Linked DNA regions of Homo sapiens: all the other regions are linked to region 2. The links are contacts of gene promoters, found by promoter capture Hi-C in human tissues and cell types (Jung and others, 2019). All regions are on one chromosome and are shown on one strand. Each heading gives the region's core, a stretch centred on a gene start or on the middle of the fragment in contact. The rest is flanking DNA. Distances are from core to core; before and after follow the strand shown. Region 1 overlaps EXOSC10 (exosome component 10). Region 2 holds the start of UBIAD1 (UbiA prenyltransferase domain containing 1). Region 3 overlaps MTOR (mechanistic target of rapamycin kinase). Region 4 has its middle 71 kb from the start of DISP3. Region 5 overlaps DISP3 (dispatched RND transporter family member 3). Region 6 holds the start of SRM (spermidine synthase).

Evidence for each region. Contacts are between HindIII fragments. The study calls those that stand out against the background at their distance.
Region 1: a contact is called between a fragment that was not itself captured here and the fragment with the promoter of UBIAD1 in region 2, in 1 of the 25 tissues and cell types used here (liver).
Region 3: a fragment that was not itself captured here is called in contact with the fragment with the promoter of UBIAD1 in region 2 in 1 of the 25 tissues and cell types used here (mesendoderm cells).
Region 4: a contact is called between a fragment that was not itself captured here and the fragment with the promoter of UBIAD1 in region 2, in 1 of the 25 tissues and cell types used here (neural progenitor cells).
Region 5: a fragment that was not itself captured here is called in contact with the fragment with the promoter of UBIAD1 in region 2 in 8 of the 25 tissues and cell types used here (H1 embryonic stem cells, IMR-90 fibroblasts, aorta and 5 more).
Region 6: the fragment with the promoter of SRM here is called in contact with the fragment with the promoter of UBIAD1 in region 2 in 1 of the 25 tissues and cell types used here (heart left ventricle).

What each region holds. Positions count from the first base shown.
Region 1 is chr1:11,080,219-11,082,918 of GRCh38, reverse strand. It overlaps EXOSC10 (exosome component 10), which reads left to right. Exons shown (of 25, transcript NM_001001998.3): 10 at 41-231; 11 at 1,681-1,837; 12 at 2,007-2,155; 13 at 2,370-2,420. Among named protein-coding and RNA genes, the nearest start is that of EXOSC10-AS1, 18 kb to the left of the region's middle. The HindIII fragment of the contact is 3,356 bases long and covers 1-2,700 here.
Region 2 is chr1:11,271,808-11,274,507 of GRCh38, reverse strand. UBIAD1 (UbiA prenyltransferase domain containing 1) reads right to left here and starts at 1,310. Exons shown (of 2, transcript NM_013319.3): 1 at 448-1,310. The coding sequence starts at 976. RefSeq lists enhancers at 1,042-1,091, 1,182-1,351 and silencers at 1,352-1,401, 1,462-1,731. The HindIII fragment of the contact is 12,769 bases long and covers 1-2,700 here.
Region 3 is chr1:11,132,917-11,135,616 of GRCh38, reverse strand. It overlaps MTOR (mechanistic target of rapamycin kinase), which reads left to right. Exons shown (of 58, transcript NM_004958.4): 37 at 1,151-1,266; 38 at 2,420-2,537. Among named protein-coding and RNA genes, the nearest start is that of MTOR-AS1, 9.6 kb to the left of the region's middle. The HindIII fragment of the contact is 7,755 bases long and covers 1-2,700 here.
Region 4 is chr1:11,406,382-11,409,081 of GRCh38, reverse strand. No RefSeq gene overlaps it. Among named protein-coding and RNA genes, the nearest start is that of DISP3, 71 kb to the left of the region's middle. The HindIII fragment of the contact is 3,403 bases long and covers 1-2,700 here.
Region 5 is chr1:11,492,070-11,494,769 of GRCh38, reverse strand. All of the region lies in intron 1 of DISP3 (dispatched RND transporter family member 3), which reads right to left. Among named protein-coding and RNA genes, the nearest start is that of DISP3, 14 kb to the right of the region's middle. The HindIII fragment of the contact is 6,238 bases long and covers 1-2,700 here.
Region 6 is chr1:11,058,669-11,061,368 of GRCh38, reverse strand. SRM (spermidine synthase) reads left to right here and starts at 1,351. Exons shown (of 8, transcript NM_003132.3): 1 at 1,351-1,592; 2 at 2,024-2,144; 3 at 2,477-2,569. The coding sequence starts at 1,426. RefSeq lists silencers at 902-1,431, 1,642-1,831. The HindIII fragment of the contact is 6,396 bases long and covers 1-2,700 here.

The sequences.
Region 1 (2,700 bases), core at 135-2,634, 190 kb after region 2:
CTGCTACCAGTGTACTGCATGACTTTGGTTCTGTTTTCAGGTCTTTCATGGTGCTGATTCAGACATAGAATGGCTACAGAAAGACTTTGGGTTGTATGTAGTAAACATGTTTGATACTCATCAGGCAGCACGCCTTCTTAACCTGGGCAGGCACTCACTCGATCATCTCCTGAAACTCTACTGCAACGTGGACTCAAACAAGCAATATCAGCTGGCTGATTGGAGAATACGGTCAGTTTGCTCTTACTGAGGAAATGTGGGTGGCAGAAGAAAGTGATTATTCATTAACCTGTCGTCCAGAGAGACCTGGGTTTGAGCCCTACCACGCTCATTGAGATGAATGGCATCAGGCTTTTCGCCAGGCATCTTCAGCAGCGTAAAAGTGGTAGGAAATTTTTTAATGCTAAGGTGGACTTTATGATGGGCTGATGCAGTTACACTGTGTTCCATGGAAATAGTGGTTGAAAAAGAGGTGCCGCACCAGTATTTGCCCATGCTGGTCTTTTGTTTGAAACTGGGATCTTTCTACCAGATGATTTTGTGTGTGTGTAAGATCTTCTGTAGGGATGATTGTGTGTGTGTGTGTGTGTGCAAGATGACCTTCCATAGGTGGGAAAGAATTCTAAGGGACACTGTTGTTTAGCTTTACACTGAGCGTTTTTTTGTGGCATAAGGTAGCAGTTTTGCCCCACTTCCTGCAGGCCTTGCTCAGCTTGGTCGTTTTCCGCTTGGTTGCTACCTCTCCGAGGTTGCACCTGTCATAGGAAGGTGCTACTGAGCTTTTTCAGGAATTCCACATGCCAGAATGCCAGAATTTCTTTTTTTCTTTTTTTTTTTTTGAGATGCAGTTTCACTGTTGCCCAGGCTGGAGTGCAATGGCGCGATCTCGGCTCACCACAACCTCTGCCTCCCGGGTTCAAGCAATTCTCCTGCCTCAGCCTCCTGAGTAGCTAGGATTACAGGCGTGCACCACCACGCCCAGCTAATTTTGTATTTCCAGTAGAGACGAGGTTTCTCCATGTTGGTCAGACTGGTCTCAAACTCCTGACCTCAGGTGATCCTCCCGCCTCCGCCTCCCAAAGTGCTGGGATTACAGGCGTGAGCCACCGCGCCTGGCCCAGAATGCCAGAATTTCTAAATATAAAAGTAAAATTACATTTGGACTGATAAAATCCAAATAAAAGATAAAAATTGATAAAATCTAAAAACCACTCCCTGTTACGGAGCCCTTACCCTGTGCCAAGCTCTGGGCTAAGTGCTTCAAGGATGTGGTCCTGTGTAGTCCTCACAACAGCCTATGAAGTACCTGGTTCCCATTTCACAAGTTAGGTGGGTCAGCCCAAAGAGGTTAAGGAACTTGTCCAAGGACAGACATCTGGAGCTGAGATTTGAACTCAGGACACCAGTGGCCCCTTTTCTACTGCCTCTTGTGTGTGTCCAGAGTAGCTGACAGTGCCCTTATTTTAACCACCGCATTACCCTGCCTCCAATTCTACCCAGCTGTTAAAATAATGGTTTATCATGTTAAAATGCAGGAAATGTTGGCATAACTGCAGTATTGACTATGAAAGGATCTTTCATATTGGAAGGGTCTAAGGAAGTCCCAGCACCCAAGGAATAGACAAATTGAATTGCTGTCCTTGGGGGCAATCAGTAAAACATTGTCCTCTGCAATTCCAGCCCTCTGCCCGAGGAGATGCTCAGCTACGCCCGGGATGACACCCATTACCTGCTATATATCTATGACAAAATGAGGCTGGAGATGTGGGAGCGCGGCAACGGGCAGCCGGTGCAGCTGCAGGTGGTGTGGCAACGGAGCAGGGACATCTGCCTCAAGGTACACCTCAGCCGCAGTCACACAGACCGCGACACTTGGGCTCTGTGTCTGGCCAGGTTCTAGTTCTTAGGTTTGCTCCTTACATTCATGAAAAGAGCCAAACATTTTCCAGAGCCCAGGGCACAATTTTGATTCCCGTTGATTTTGAATGTTCTCTAATACTTTGTAGAAATTCATCAAACCTATCTTCACGGATGAGTCCTACCTTGAACTCTATAGGAAGCAGAAGAAGCACCTTAACACACAGCAGTTGACAGCCTTTCAGCTGCTGTTTGCCTGGAGGGATAAAACAGCTCGCAGGGAAGATGAAAGTTACGGGTAAGGGATTAGAGGTTCTTTTAATACTTGTTTCCAGACTGAGGAGATCTAATAACAAGTAAATAATGGGCTTTTTTCTTTTGCTATGAAAGCTGGTTATTTCCCCTATGTGACAGCATCTAATGGAACTTACTGGCTGAATGTAATGTGTCCCCACCGTGTGTGTGTGTGTGTGTGTGTGTGTGTGTGTGTGTGTGTGTTTTTTTTTTTCCAGATATGTACTGCCAAACCACATGATGCTGAAAATAGCTGAAGAACTGCCTAAGTGAGTTTCAAATCTGATTAATATGTTCTGACTTTCTCAGTAGATCTGATGTTCTTCAAAATCAAGCTTTTCTGGTTGCTATTACCCAAGGCTGCTTACTCAGAGATTAATGCTCCAAGCTTGGAAGGTAGCAAGTTGAAGGAATATAGAATTTCTGCCCTCAGGCTGCCATTTAAGCACTAAAACTTCTGAACTGGAATCATTTCAATGATTATGCCTTAGTTTGAGTTTATTTTAAGTCTCTGAGCCTTATAGCATCTACTTGCAAGGGAAGAAAATG
Region 2 (2,700 bases), core at 61-2,560:
GGCCAACATGGTGACACCCCGTCTCTAATAAAAATACAAAAATCAGCCAGGCGTGGTGGCGTGCACCTGTAGTCCCAGCTACTCGGGAGGCTGAGGCAGGAGAATCGCTTGAACACGGGAGGCAGAGGCTGCAGTGGGCCGAGATCGCACCACTGCACTCCAGCCTGGGCGACAGAGCGAGACTCCGTCTCAAAAATGAATACATAAAAAATAAATAAAAATAAATGTCCATATAAAATTTTCAGTCATGCCCTACGTCCGTAAGTCAAACCAGGATCTTCTCAAATCACTGTTTCAAAAAATTCACATCACCCACAATTATAGACTTCAATTAAAGCGGCTTAAATTAGAAAGCCACCTTTGACATCCCTATAACTCCTTTACAAAGCAGCGGTTTCCAGTGGACGCGACTAAGACCTGCAGCACACAGGACAGGCCAAATCTTACCTCCTGTGTAGAGAAAGGAGCCAGACAGGCCTCCAAAGTAGATAAGAGCCAAGTGCTCCAGTTTCAGAGGGGACAGGTAGTAGAGGCAAGCGGCACAGACGCAGCCCAACGTGTAGAGGAAGACTCCGAACCGGACGACATCCTGCGGCTCCAAGATTCGGTCCACAAGTGTCCTGTCATCACTCTTTTTGTGGTCAATGCCCTTGGAAAAGTCATAGTAAGTGTTGACCAAATTACCGGCCCCGTGCACAGCCAGGACAGCCACGGCACAACCCACCAAGAGCCTGGGATCCAGGACACCGTGGGATCTGTAGGCAAGGGCACTGCCCAGGGCCACCGGTGTGAGTGAGGCACTGAAGCTCCAGGGCCTCAGGGCCAACACGTAGGAGGCACACTTCTGCCTCCAGGAGCGCTGGGGGAGCCTATCTTGCTCGGGACAGTCGTTCCCCAGCGGGTCCCTGTCCCCAGCTTTGACAGTCTCTCCCGACAGGATGTTAATCTTCTCCCCCAGGACCTGAGAGGCCGCCATGGAAGCTCCACGTGGTTGAAGTAAACTCTAAAAGTGAGCCACGCACAGTGACCGCCCGGGAAGGAGGAAGGACGGGGCGGGGCAGCAGGGCCCGACCTTCCTTCGGTTCCGCCCCAGGACAGGGCTGGTGTGGCGGCAAGGTCCGGGGGCAACAGCAAGTGGGTCTTACACCCCACGAGGCCAAGCGGCGCCGCCCCTACTACCCGTCACCTGGGCGAAGTCTGTCTCCGGCCCCCAGCCCCGCGTTAGAGCCCACGGCTGAGCCGCGGCCGCCTTCTTTAGGCCGCCAGAGCCGCCATCTTGTGCGCCGGCCTCTGGAGGCCCGCCCGGAAACAGGTGCCGGCGGCGCGGGCTGGACCGGAGGGTGGGCTGGAGGGCGGGAGGGGGCGGGGCCGAGCCAGAGGCGGGGAGAAGGGCGGTGAGGGGTGGGGGGCGGGGGCCTGGTCAGAGGCGGGGCGGGCAGGGCCGAGTCAGAGGAGGGGCGGGGTCAGAGGCGGGGAGAAGGGCGGTGAGGGGTGGGGCGGGGCTGAGGGGCGGGGCCAGACCGGTGGTGGGGCGGGAGGGGGCGGGGCCGGGGCGGGAATGGACCGGGAGCGGGGACGGGCCAGGAGCTGGGGCCGGGCGGTGACCCGGCATCCAGCCCTTTTCCTGCCTGCACTGCGCCCCGCAGCTACTTCCAGACTAACTGCAATCAGCCTCTCTTAGCATCATAAGAACTCGAAGGCGTGTTGCTTTAGGACTTACCGGGCGCACTTTCATTCACGAAGTAGGATTCATTAATTTATTCATGCTACAAGCATTTATTGAGCGCCTGCTGTGTGCATACATTCTGACGTCTATCATATCTGCACCGTGGAAATACTCTATGATGTGCTACTGCTCACCTCTTATCAGCTTTTCATTCAGTGACATCCTTCAGCAGCTTGAAATCTGCCCATGGTGGGAGAATTTACACCACGCAAATCAGCAAATGCTTAATAACTGCTAAGTCGTCTAGACTTAAGAAAGTGGCGGAGAAAATGTTCATATTACTGGTTAAACTTAAAAGTGTTGGAGGGTGCGGTGGCTCACGCCTGTAATCCCAGCACTTTGGAAGGCCGAGGCAGGCGGATCACTTGATGTCAGGAGTTCGACATCAGCCTGGCCAACATAGCGAAACCCTGTCTCTACTAAAAATACAAAAATTAGCCGTGCGTGGTGGCAGGCACCTGTAATCCCAGCTACTCGGGAGGCTGGGGCAGGAGAATTGCTTGAACCCGGGAGATGGAGGTTGCAGTGAGCCAAGATCATGCCAATGGGCTCCAGCCTGGGCAACAGAGTGAGACTCCATCTCAAAAAAAAAAAAAAAATTAGCCGGGGGTGGTGGTGCATTCCTGTAATCACAGCTACTCGGGAGGCTGAGGCAGGAGAATTGCTTGAACCCTGGAGGCAGAGGCTGCAGTGAGCCAAGATCACGCCACTGCACTCCAGCCTGGGCAGTAGAGCGAGACTCCGTCTCAAAAAAGAAAAAAAAGAGAGAAAAAAAGTGTGTAAGTGAATGCACCAAAACTTTGAGGAAATATTCGTTCAGCATTGGCAAATTATTATCCAGTTGAACAAATAAGTCGCTTGTAGCCTTGACAAACTAGTGAAGTTCTGACATATCTCTTTTGATTGTTTCACTTTCCTCTTACTCCTAACATAAAATATCAACCAACATTCATGTCTGAACTATGCTCATTGAT
Region 3 (2,700 bases), core at 115-2,614, 140 kb after region 2:
GGTGATCCACCCGCCTCGGCCTCCTAAAGTGCTGGGATTACAGGTGTGAGCCACTGCACCTGGCTAACATGTTTTTATTTAAAACAAACAAAAATACCTCTTATATGATTTACCATAAGGAGAACTGTTATTTATCTGAAGTCTTGATTTTTTCCTTCTTCTGCAGCACAGAACACATTGCCTCTTTTTCACATTCTCTCATATAATGTTTCCTTTCCCTGTGTTAATGCATTTAGATTTTGCCATTTTTCCATTTGAGCTTTTGATGTTTGTACATTCTATCTCCATCCTTGAAGCCCTTTATTATTATTTTTTTTTCTATTTGTGGGTTTTCCCCCCTCTAGAAAAACCAGAAAAGATTTGTTTTTCCCTTTAAAAGTGATATGGACCGCACTTATCAAGATGCTGGTTCAACTGGATGTGGCGGGCTTGTACAGTAGTCCCAGATCTGTGATTCTGTCTCTGCCCTTCCTCAGTTCAGCTGTCTGTTCCTGACTCACATGCCCTCTGCTCACTTTGTATACAAGCCGGTAGTATAAATAGATCTAGCTGCTTTAGGATGCTCTGGAGATTTTGCCCCTAAGTCACCCTGTTCAACCAGATGTCTGCTGAGCTAATATCTTCTCCCTATTCCCTGTGAATGCATGCGGGTTTTCACTCCAAATCTGTGTTCTTATTTGGGTGCTATATGATTTTTAAATCCATAGTTTTTGCTCCGCTGGACTGTCCAAGGTACCCTGGTGTTGTAAACAAATACCAAAGTTTTATTAGCCTGAAACAATTCCCAAAAGCCTAATATCCCCCAGGGTAACATATTGATAGTGAAGTAAGCAGTTGTTTCAAATTACTTTGTAGGAATTTTTATTTGGGGTAGCCAGGCATGAAACTTTGCCAAGGCTTATAAAACTGGTAATTATAGTTGGCAAAGGAGAGCCAAGACTTGAGTTGAATAAGTCATGAATCTTTTTGAAAAGCCCAGTCTCTCCCAGTATCACGCCCTGGTCCTCTGTCCTATGGGGTCATCATTCTGTGCTCTAGGGTATTCTGTTTGGAGAGGGGTTGACTCATGCCTATCAGATGAACGGTAGCTCCCTTCCTCTGAAGCTGGGCCACAAGCCAAGTGGCTCTCTGTGCCTTTGTCCTGTTACAGATCGATGCCTTCCAGCACATGCAGCATTTTGTCCAGACCATGCAGCAACAGGCCCAGCATGCCATCGCTACTGAGGACCAGCAGCATAAGCAGGAACTGCACAAGCTCATGGCCCGGTGAGGTCCCCACTGACCTGGGGCAAGTCATATTCCAGCCCTGTCATCCCAGCAGCTTCTGCAGCAAGGAGGAGTTCAAGGCTTCTTGGGTGGCTGATTGCTGACATCTCTCTTTCCTTTTCCAGTAGGGATCCCAGGCAACCACCAAAGCATACTGCTCTCAAAGTCTCTGCCACTTGCTTTCCTAGGTTCAGCAGCCCAAGAGCACCCATGTGCTGTTCTCCTGGCGTCTGGTTTTAGAGTCCTTGTTTTCAAATGTCAGATATGCTGCCCCTCCCTTTTTTTTTTTTAAGATGGTCTTGCTGTGTCACCCAGGCTAGAGTATAGCCTTGATCTCCTGGGCTTAAGCAATCCTCCCACCTCAGTTTCCCAAGTAGCTATAGGCACGTGCCACCACACTGGCTAGTTTTTTGTAGAAATGAGGTCTCTACAAAAGAACAGGCATAGAGCCTGCATTTCCTCCTACAAGTTTAATGTTGCCCAGGCTGGTCTCAAACTCCTGTGCTCCAGCCAGCCTCCCTCCACAGCCTTCCAAAATGCTGGGATTATAGGTGTGGGCCACTGTGCCACTCTGTGCTGCAGATTTGATATTTGACTTCAGAGAAGTGACTTAACCTCTCTATGCCTCAGTTACCAATATAAAAGGGATAGTAACAGTTTCTATTTCCTAGGGTGGTATAAAGTAGTGTGAGGATTAATGCAAAGAGTACAATGCCAAGCATTTCAAGCAGCACTTGGAATACAGTAGCAGTCAGTAAATGTGGGCTAATCTCATTACAAAGAATGGAGGCAAAGGGAAAAGTAAGGGAGAAGCCATATAGCAATCAATAAAGAAGTAACTCTCAACTGTCACCCACAAAAAATTGGGTTTGGGGTAGGTAAGTCCATACAGACCTATCTGTACCAGGTACATGGTTTATGCTGTCATTGAGAGACAAAGGTCAAGATGGAAAGATGGTATCTTAAAAATGTATTCCAAAAGCCCATCTCCTTTCTTGCGTGTGGCTGAAAATTTTGCTAGCTCCTTCACATTGCCTCTTGAGAATAAGAGGAAATACCAGAAGGGCTTCAGTGTCCCCTAACAATTTGTGGTCCTCTTAGGAGGGCTGTTTTGAGGAGGGAATGTCATGGGGGCTTGTTTCTCTGCTTCCAGATGCTTCCTGAAACTTGGAGAGTGGCAGCTGAATCTACAGGGCATCAATGAGAGCACAATCCCCAAAGTGCTGCAGTACTACAGCGCCGCCACAGAGCACGACCGCAGCTGGTACAAGGTGATCAGAAGCAGGCCACCTGTGAGACCCAGCACCCTGGCTGGCTCGTGTCCTCCTGTGTGCTCGTGGTTACAGCTGAGCTTCTGCGGAGCTAGGCTGATGCTGTGAACTTACTCCTTGAGTCCCTGGAGCCTATCTATAAGAGGCCCAGGGAGCCTGCATT
Region 4 (2,700 bases), core at 86-2,585, 130 kb before region 2:
TGTTTGGGGCAAGAGGTCTAACTTTTGGCCTCTCTTGGCTTTCAATATGCCTTCCTCACTAAGCTTAATCATTTCTAGCTTTTGATGTAAAGTGGGAGACGTGTGACTCTTCCTTTCACTTGAATACTTAGAGGCCACTGTAGGACTATTAATTGGCCTAATTGCAATATTATTGTGTCTCTGAGAATCAGGAGGCCTGAAGAGAGAGAGAAGGGGGCACTGGGAACACACACAACATTTATTAAGTTTGCCATCTTCTATGGGCACAGTTTGTGGCACCCCAAAACAATTACAATAGTAATGTCAAAGATCGCAGATCACCATAACAGAGATAATAATAATGAAAAAGTTTCAAAGATTGTGAAGATTATGGAGAGACGTGAACTGAGCTCATGCTGTTGGAAAAAATGGCGCCAATAGACTTGCTCAATGCAGGGTTGCCAGAAGCCCTCAATTTGTTAAAAAAATAAAATAAAAATAAAAGGCAATATCCGCAAAACCCAAGAAAGCTAAGTGCAATAAAACGAGGTGTGCCTATAATTTGAATTATTTCTGCCAACACCATCGAGTCACATTTTAAGGGCCTTCGTGCTGAGCTCCCCAAGGGGGACCGTGTCTTAATGGATCTCTACATCCTCTTTGGCTAACCCAGGACTTGGCCCCTAGTAGGTACTCAAGGAAGTGTTTGTGACATGAATAAGTGAATGAATGAAGGATAAATAAAACTGGGCCCTATGGCTAAGTTCTGGAGATACTTTCCCAATACAGGACCTCTGAAATTGCTGGATGAAGCATTTAAAATGCTTTTTAATGCATGGATAGGTTTGTGGGAAAGTAAAGAAAACCTTCAAAGTTGCAAGAATGCAACTCCAGAGAAGTGAGTGAGCTGGCACTGAAGCCAGCACTTCCACGGGGGCATCTGGTCAGCCGAAAGCCTGGCCTTTGATGCTCTGTGTTATAACAGCAAGAAACAAAGCCGGTCTGGGCAAGGTGGGAGATGAAATTTGCCAACTGTATTAGTCCGTTTTCATGCTGCTGACAAAGACATGCCTGAGACTGGGCAATTTACAAAAGAAAGAGGTTTATCAGACTTACAGTTCCACATGGCTGGGAGGCCTTACAATCATGGCGGAAGGAGGAGCAAGTCACATTTTTCGTGGATGGCAGCAGGCAAAAGGAGAGCTTGTGCAGGGAAACTCCCGTTTTTAAAAACCGTCAGATCTCGTGAGACCCATTCACTATCACCAGAACAGCACGGGAAAGACACGCCCCCTGATTCAATCATCTCCCGCTGGCTCCCTCCCACAACTTGTGGGGATTATGGGAGCTACAGGATAAGATTTGGGTGGGGACACAGAGCCAAACCATATCACCAACCACACATAAAGCAAGGTCTTCCGAACATGAACTAGAAAAGCCTGCCTTGGCTCTGGTGGGAAGGGAAAAATAAAAACCAGAAAAAAAAAAAGAAAAAGTCTTCCTTCCTGAGAATCTTAACCACCAGCTTGCCCTTATGTGGGCGTGGGGCCAGAATTCATTCTACTTATGCGGCCTAAAAAACCACAAGCAGAAAATCAGCCCACCGTTAACAGCAGCACCTGGCAGAAATATACACCAATCTTCTCTGAAGAAACAGCCCTAAGGCCAGGCCTCCACGAATTCCTGTAGAAAACAAGTTCCAAGAAAGTGCACAGTAGAGAAAAAGTCAAAACACACAGGAAACAAGCTACTGTGAGCAGGGGCCACCAAAAACAGCAACTGCAAACCAGACATGCACAGGTGGCCAATGTTGAATTATCAGACATTGCATATAAAATAAACATGCAAGGATTTTAAAACGTAAAAGTGGATAGCAAAAGTATGACAAAGGAAAATGAGATTATGAAAAATTACCAGATTGATTTGAAAAAGAGTCCAATAAAATATCTAGAGATGAGAAGTTTAATAATTGAAAGTAGAAACTTCATGAATGAAACAGAAGATGAGACAGCTGAGGAGAGAATTAGTGAACTGGAAAAGACATAAAAATACATTTCTTGCCTGGCACAGTGGCTCACGCCTGTAATTCCAGCCCTGTGGGAGGTCGAGGTGGGTGGATCACTTGAGGCCAGGAGTTCAAAACCAGCCTGGCCACATGGCAAAACCACACTCCCCAGGCCCCTGTCTCTATGAAAATTACGAAAAAAGTAGCTGTGCGTGGTGGCACACGCCTGTAGTCCTAGCTACTCAGGAGGCTGAGGCAGAAGAATCACTTGAACCCAAGAGACGGAGGTTGCAGTGAGCCGAGATCATGCCACTGCACTTCAGCCTGGGCAACAGAGCAAAACTCTGTCTCAAAAAATAAAAAATAAATACATTTCTCAGAAGGTAGCAGAGGGAGACAAACAAATGGAAGATATAAAAGAGAGATTAAGAGAGGTGGGGATGAAATGAGAAGATCGAGTATGTGTCTAATCAGAGTTCCAGAAGGAGATATCAGAGGTAACAGTGGAGAGTCAAATTCAAAGAGAAGATAGCTGAGAATTTTCCAGAACTATTACTCTAAACTTCAGAAAGCTCAATGAATCTCAAGCAGGATAAATTAAAAGAGATCTCCACCTAAAAACACCATAGCAAAACCATGGAACATCATAGACAAAGAGAAAACCTTCAAAGCAGCCAAAGATAAAAGAGAGATTACCTAAAAAGGAACATCAAATA
Region 5 (2,700 bases), core at 195-2,694, 220 kb before region 2:
TACAATTTAACGGCAATTAGGAGCTAATCAGCTTTTTCTTCCTGGCTCAGGATGTTTTGCCTTCCCTGGTTCAGCTCTGGTCCTTGAACATCTTGAGGTCTTTGATTCTCTTACCCTTGGGTCGAGAGTTTTGGGCAGAAGCTCAAAATGAGTTATTTTGAGTTGAACAGCTCCAGAGAAGGGAGGAAAGAAAAGAGGAGGCCTTGGTGCCTCCCAGGCATCACTGTCCTACGTCCTGATACTCCGTCTTCTGAGAATCCACCGCTCTCCGGATGTCCTGGCTATGTGCCAGTCATCAGAATCCCAAACCTTTCCCCGAGACCTGGACACTCCACCTAGGCCAGGAGGCTGGAGAGGCACTGGAGATGTGGTGGTGAAACGGGCAAAATCACACACATGGAGTGCAGTCAAAAGCCCAGCTAGTTCAGCCCAGCTAGTTCAATGCAGAAACTCTGACACCCATTAAGACCATCATAATAATTAACTCTGCATCTACCACGTGCCAGTACTCCTTATCCATCCTCTGTCATCCTCACATCAGCCCTGCAAGGACGCTAGGGAAGGCATTATGAGCATTCACTTTTTACAGAAGCAAAATCAGAATCAGAGAGGTTAAGTGACTCCCTGGTGGTCACACAGCTACTAAGGGGCAGAACTGGAGTTTGAACCCCAGGTCTATTGATCCTAAAGCCCAGGCTCTTTTGGCCATACCAGGTAGCCTATGAGCTCTTTGAGAGCTGATATGTCAGTACTTGTTGAAGAAACCCATTGCCTTTTAGCAAGTTTGCCCCATCCCCATAAGACCACAGATCACTCGGGGCCTGGCAATTCTGCTTTCAGCAGGTGGCAACTCAGGGCATGATGTAAAGGAAGTCTCCCACCAACCTCAGAAGCTTGGCTTTCCCTTCAATGGGTCATGGGTGTGATGGTTAATTCTATGTGTCAACTTGACTGGACTATGGGGTGCCCAGATATTTGGCCAAACATGATTCTGGGTGTGTGTGTGAGAGAGAGAGTGTGTTTCCAGATAAGATTTTTTTTTTTTTGAGATGGAGTCTTGCTCTGTTGCCCAGGCTTGAGTGTGGTGGCATGATCTCAGCTCACTGCAACCTCCACCTCTGAGGTTCAAATGATTCTCCTGTCTCAGCCTCCCAAGTAGCTGGGATTACAGGTGCATGCCACCATGCCTGGCTAATTTTTGTATTTTTAGTAGAGACGGGGTTTCGCCATGTTGGCCAGGCTGGTCTTGAACTCCTACCTCAAGTGATCCGCCCACCTCCGCCTCCCAAAGTGCTAGGATTACAGGAGTGAGCCACCAAGCCCAGCCTCCAGATAAGATCAGCATCAGTACACAGAGTAAAGCAGATGGTTCTCACTAATGAGGGTGGGCCTCAACGAATCAGTTGAAGATCTGAATAGAATGAAAAGGCTAAGAGGAAATTGTTTTTGTTGACTGCTAGAGCTTGGACATTGGTCTTTTCTGGCCTTTGGACTCAAGCTGAAATATCAGCTCTTCTTGGGTCTTCAGCCTGCCAGCTATCAGACTAGAACTTACACCATTGGCCCTCCTGGTTCTCAGGCCTTCAGTCTCAAACTGCAACTATACCATCAGCTCTCCTGGGTCTCCAGCTTGCTGCCTGCAGATCTTGGGGCTTCTCAGCCTCCATAATCACATAAGCCAATTCCTTCTAATAAATCTCTCTCTGATATATATATGCTATTGGTTATTTTCTTCTGGAGAACCCTAATACAATGGGGCCGTGAAGCATCCCAGAGAGAAAGTAGGAGTGAAGCAGGGAGCCCCATCCTAGCAGCTGGATCCTAGGGCCCTCCCAGAGTCTTCTCTGAAGATGTTCCAAGTCCTACCTAGAATCTCAAATGAACACGGCAACAGAGCCAGGGAATGCCTTCCAGATCCATAGAGGAAGGGGTATGGCTGAGTGACTTTCCACACTTGTCTGAGCTCTTTCCCCAGCAAGAAGATCCTGAATCTATCACCCCATATCTCCTGCCCCAGCCCCAGGGAAACCTGGCTTTGTGGCTGCAGCTGAAGCAAGCACCTACCTCTACTCCCCATCACCCCTGCTGCCCCCTAAGAAACACGATCTTTGTTGGCTCAATTTGCCAGCCGGAAATTCAGAGGGGGTACAAATGACCATTCCTCTCTGCAAAGAAAATCTGGGCTTATTATTAGAAGCCCAGGTGGGGGTGGGGAGAGGAATCGGGTGGGGGCTCTGTGGCGAGCCTGTCCAAGCCCCCCATTTCTCAGAGAAGGTCAGGCTGCACAGATGGAGTGGATGAAGGATGACTGGCCTCCTGGGGCTGACAGCTGGTGAGGAAACTATGGGCGCTGACTCGAAAAACCCAATGGCTCAATATTTATCAGGCAAACAAGCTTTGCCTGGGTCAATATATCACCTGAGGAAACGTCCCAGCCAACACCAGAGGGATCCAACGTTCATGGGCACAACAGCCACTATCACTTTTCCTGTTCTGGTGTCCCCTCTCTAGTGGGCTCAGTGGGACAGAACCCGACCCCCTAACACCAAGAGGGAAATCTGTAAAATGGGGATGGTGATACTGCTCCCCTGCTGAACCAGAGCAGCTAGTACGATTATTAACTTCTTTTTTTTTTTTTTTTTTTTTTTGAGACGGAGTCTCGCTCTGTCGCCCAGGCTGGAGTGCAGTGGCGGGATCTCG
Region 6 (2,700 bases), core at 102-2,601, 210 kb after region 2:
TCCTGCCTCAGCCTCCCGAGTAGCTGGGACTGCAGGCGCGCACTACCATGCCCAGCTAATTTTTGTATTTTTAGTACAGACGGGGTTTCACCATGTTGGCCAGGATCGTCTTGATCTCTTGACCTCGTGATCCGCCCGCCTCCGCCTCCGCCTCCCACAGTGCTGGGATTACCGGGGTGAACCATCACGCCCAGGCACCTAGCAATTCTTTAGCGGTCTTGGTTTACCTCCCCTTTAGAAGGAGCTTAAAAGCAAGCAAGGCACATTGTTGCCTAGGCTTGAGGCTTGCTCTCACCCATAAACAACGCTGTTACTCTGCTCTGGGGACGACACAGGAAACGTTCCCCACCTCCAGGTGGAGGCTGCAAAACGTGTCAAAACCATCCCTGACATAATGTCAAGAGTAGCTTATACTAGTTTCATCTTCCTTCCTTGGCATTCGAACTGCGTGTGGAACAATTAGCATTTAATATTTGGTAATTAGCATGCTTAATGTGATTCTGAGAAGTTCTTTGACATTCTCATAAAAACAGCACATTCCCACCCACCCTTCAAAGAGCAAGACCCAGTTTGTCAAGAAAAATTGCGTGCCAGTCTTTTCTGGTGCTGAATATGTATGTTCTGGGCCTCTTCCTGGACACTGCTGGTAAATTTAGAAACTCGTTTAGAAAAGCACTTCTCTCGTATTCAACAGCCTATAGGCTCATGGCGCAGAATCTAAGGGAAAATGGCTAAATCCAGCTTGTGAATTCGCGGGCTGTGATGATTCTTTCCAAGTAAATAAAAACCCTCGGTTCGCCCCGACGAGCCACATAATCTGTTCAAATCCAACAAGGAACCAGATTTTGGACGCAAAGAAGGATACGTTCTACTCGCCCCGTGCAACAACGTAAACCACTGTAGCCACCCGCTCCCGTGTCTCCAGCCCAAAGGCTGACTCTCCAGTCCGCACGTCGCAGCGCTCTTGCCCTCCACACCAAGCCCGAGTCCCGCAGCCCCTCGAGGCCCTCGGTGCCTCCCAACCCCGAGAAGGAAGCGGGGGCCGGTGGTGCACCGCCCCGGCTGCTTGGGGCGGAGGAAGGACCCGGACCCCTTCCGCCGGCCCAGCCCGCCCCGGAACCCGACCCGGCCGCCCGGCCCCGGCCGGGCCCCACGTGGCCCCTGGAGCGGGCCGCACTACCCTGCTGCCGCCGACGGACGGCGCGCCACAGCCACTCTGCGCCGCTCTGCGAGCCGGTGGCCAATGAGCGCCAGGCGAGGCCGCTTTGCCATTGGCGAGCGCGGGCTCCGCCCCCGCCGGCAGGCCCCGCCCCGCGCCCGGGTTAGGTTGCGGCGCGGGCGGCGGGCGGAGCTGGTCCCGTTGTGCTGCGGCGCCGCGCGGCCTGCAGTCCCGGGCCCGCGCCCCGCGCCGCCCGCCCGCCCGCCATGGAGCCCGGCCCCGACGGCCCCGCCGCCTCCGGCCCCGCCGCCATCCGCGAGGGCTGGTTCCGCGAGACCTGCAGCCTGTGGCCCGGCCAGGCCCTGTCACTGCAGGTGGAGCAGCTGCTCCACCACCGGCGCTCGCGCTACCAGGACATCCTCGTCTTCCGCAGGTACCGCCGCTGCCCGCAGGCGCCTGCCCCCTAGGCTCAGCCCGGGCCGCCTGCTGCCCGCCTCACGGGCCTCTCCACGCCGGGACCCAAGCGGGCTGGACCTCGTCCTGCCCTGGCCCCCTCGCCACCCCTCACACCGCCTCCCTGGGCTGGGGCTGGGACTGCGGGCTGGCCTCTTGGGTGGGGGAGTCGGAGTCTGCGCCCCGCTCCACGTGTCAGCCCTCAGGACACGTCAGAGCCCGAGGAGACCCCGGGTCCCACCCCGGCCTCCACCCGGCGGCCCGCCTGCCGTTCCTCGCCACGTGTCACCATCGCTCCTCATCCCTGGGACCCCTAGGCGGGATGGGGAGACCCTCCTCACCCAGGGCGGCTTGGGGTACGTTTTCCCCACCCCAGAGAACCCAGGTCCCCGACTGTCACTCCGCCCGCAGTAAGACCTATGGCAACGTGCTGGTGTTGGACGGTGTCATCCAGTGCACGGAGAGAGACGAGTTCTCCTACCAGGAGATGATCGCCAACCTGCCTCTCTGCAGCCACCCCAACCCGCGAAAGGTACCCCAGTGTCCCCTGGAACAGTGCCGGACGAGGGGCGGCCCCAGGTGTGCTCCGGGCTCTTCCCAGATGCTGCCTGCATGGTTGTCAGAGAAAGTGCTAGCGAGGCCAGGGGCGTCCCGCGGAGGGGTGGGGGCCGACACTGACGCGGCCTCGGAATCCTAGGGCAGCCCTGGAAGGAACTTCCAGGAAAGGGGACACCGGCACGAAAGCGTTTCCGAGGGTAGAAAAAGATGAGGCCCGTGGGTCCGAGGGGTCAGGGGGTCTGCTTCAGGGGCCTGGGGGCTCCCAGTCCTGCCAGGGCCCCTGCCTTGACTGCCCCCTCCTCCCAGGTGCTGATCATCGGGGGCGGAGATGGAGGTGTCCTGCGGGAGGTGGTGAAGCACCCCTCCGTGGAGTCCGTGGTCCAGTGTGAGATCGACGAGGTGAGTGCCGGCGTAGAGCCAGGTTTGAGTCCTGGTTCTCCCAGCGGCCAGCTGTGCCCTGAAATGGCTGCACACCCCCGAGCAAGGCAGGTAGGGCCTGTTTCTCCATCTGGAAAACACCTGGTCGGGGA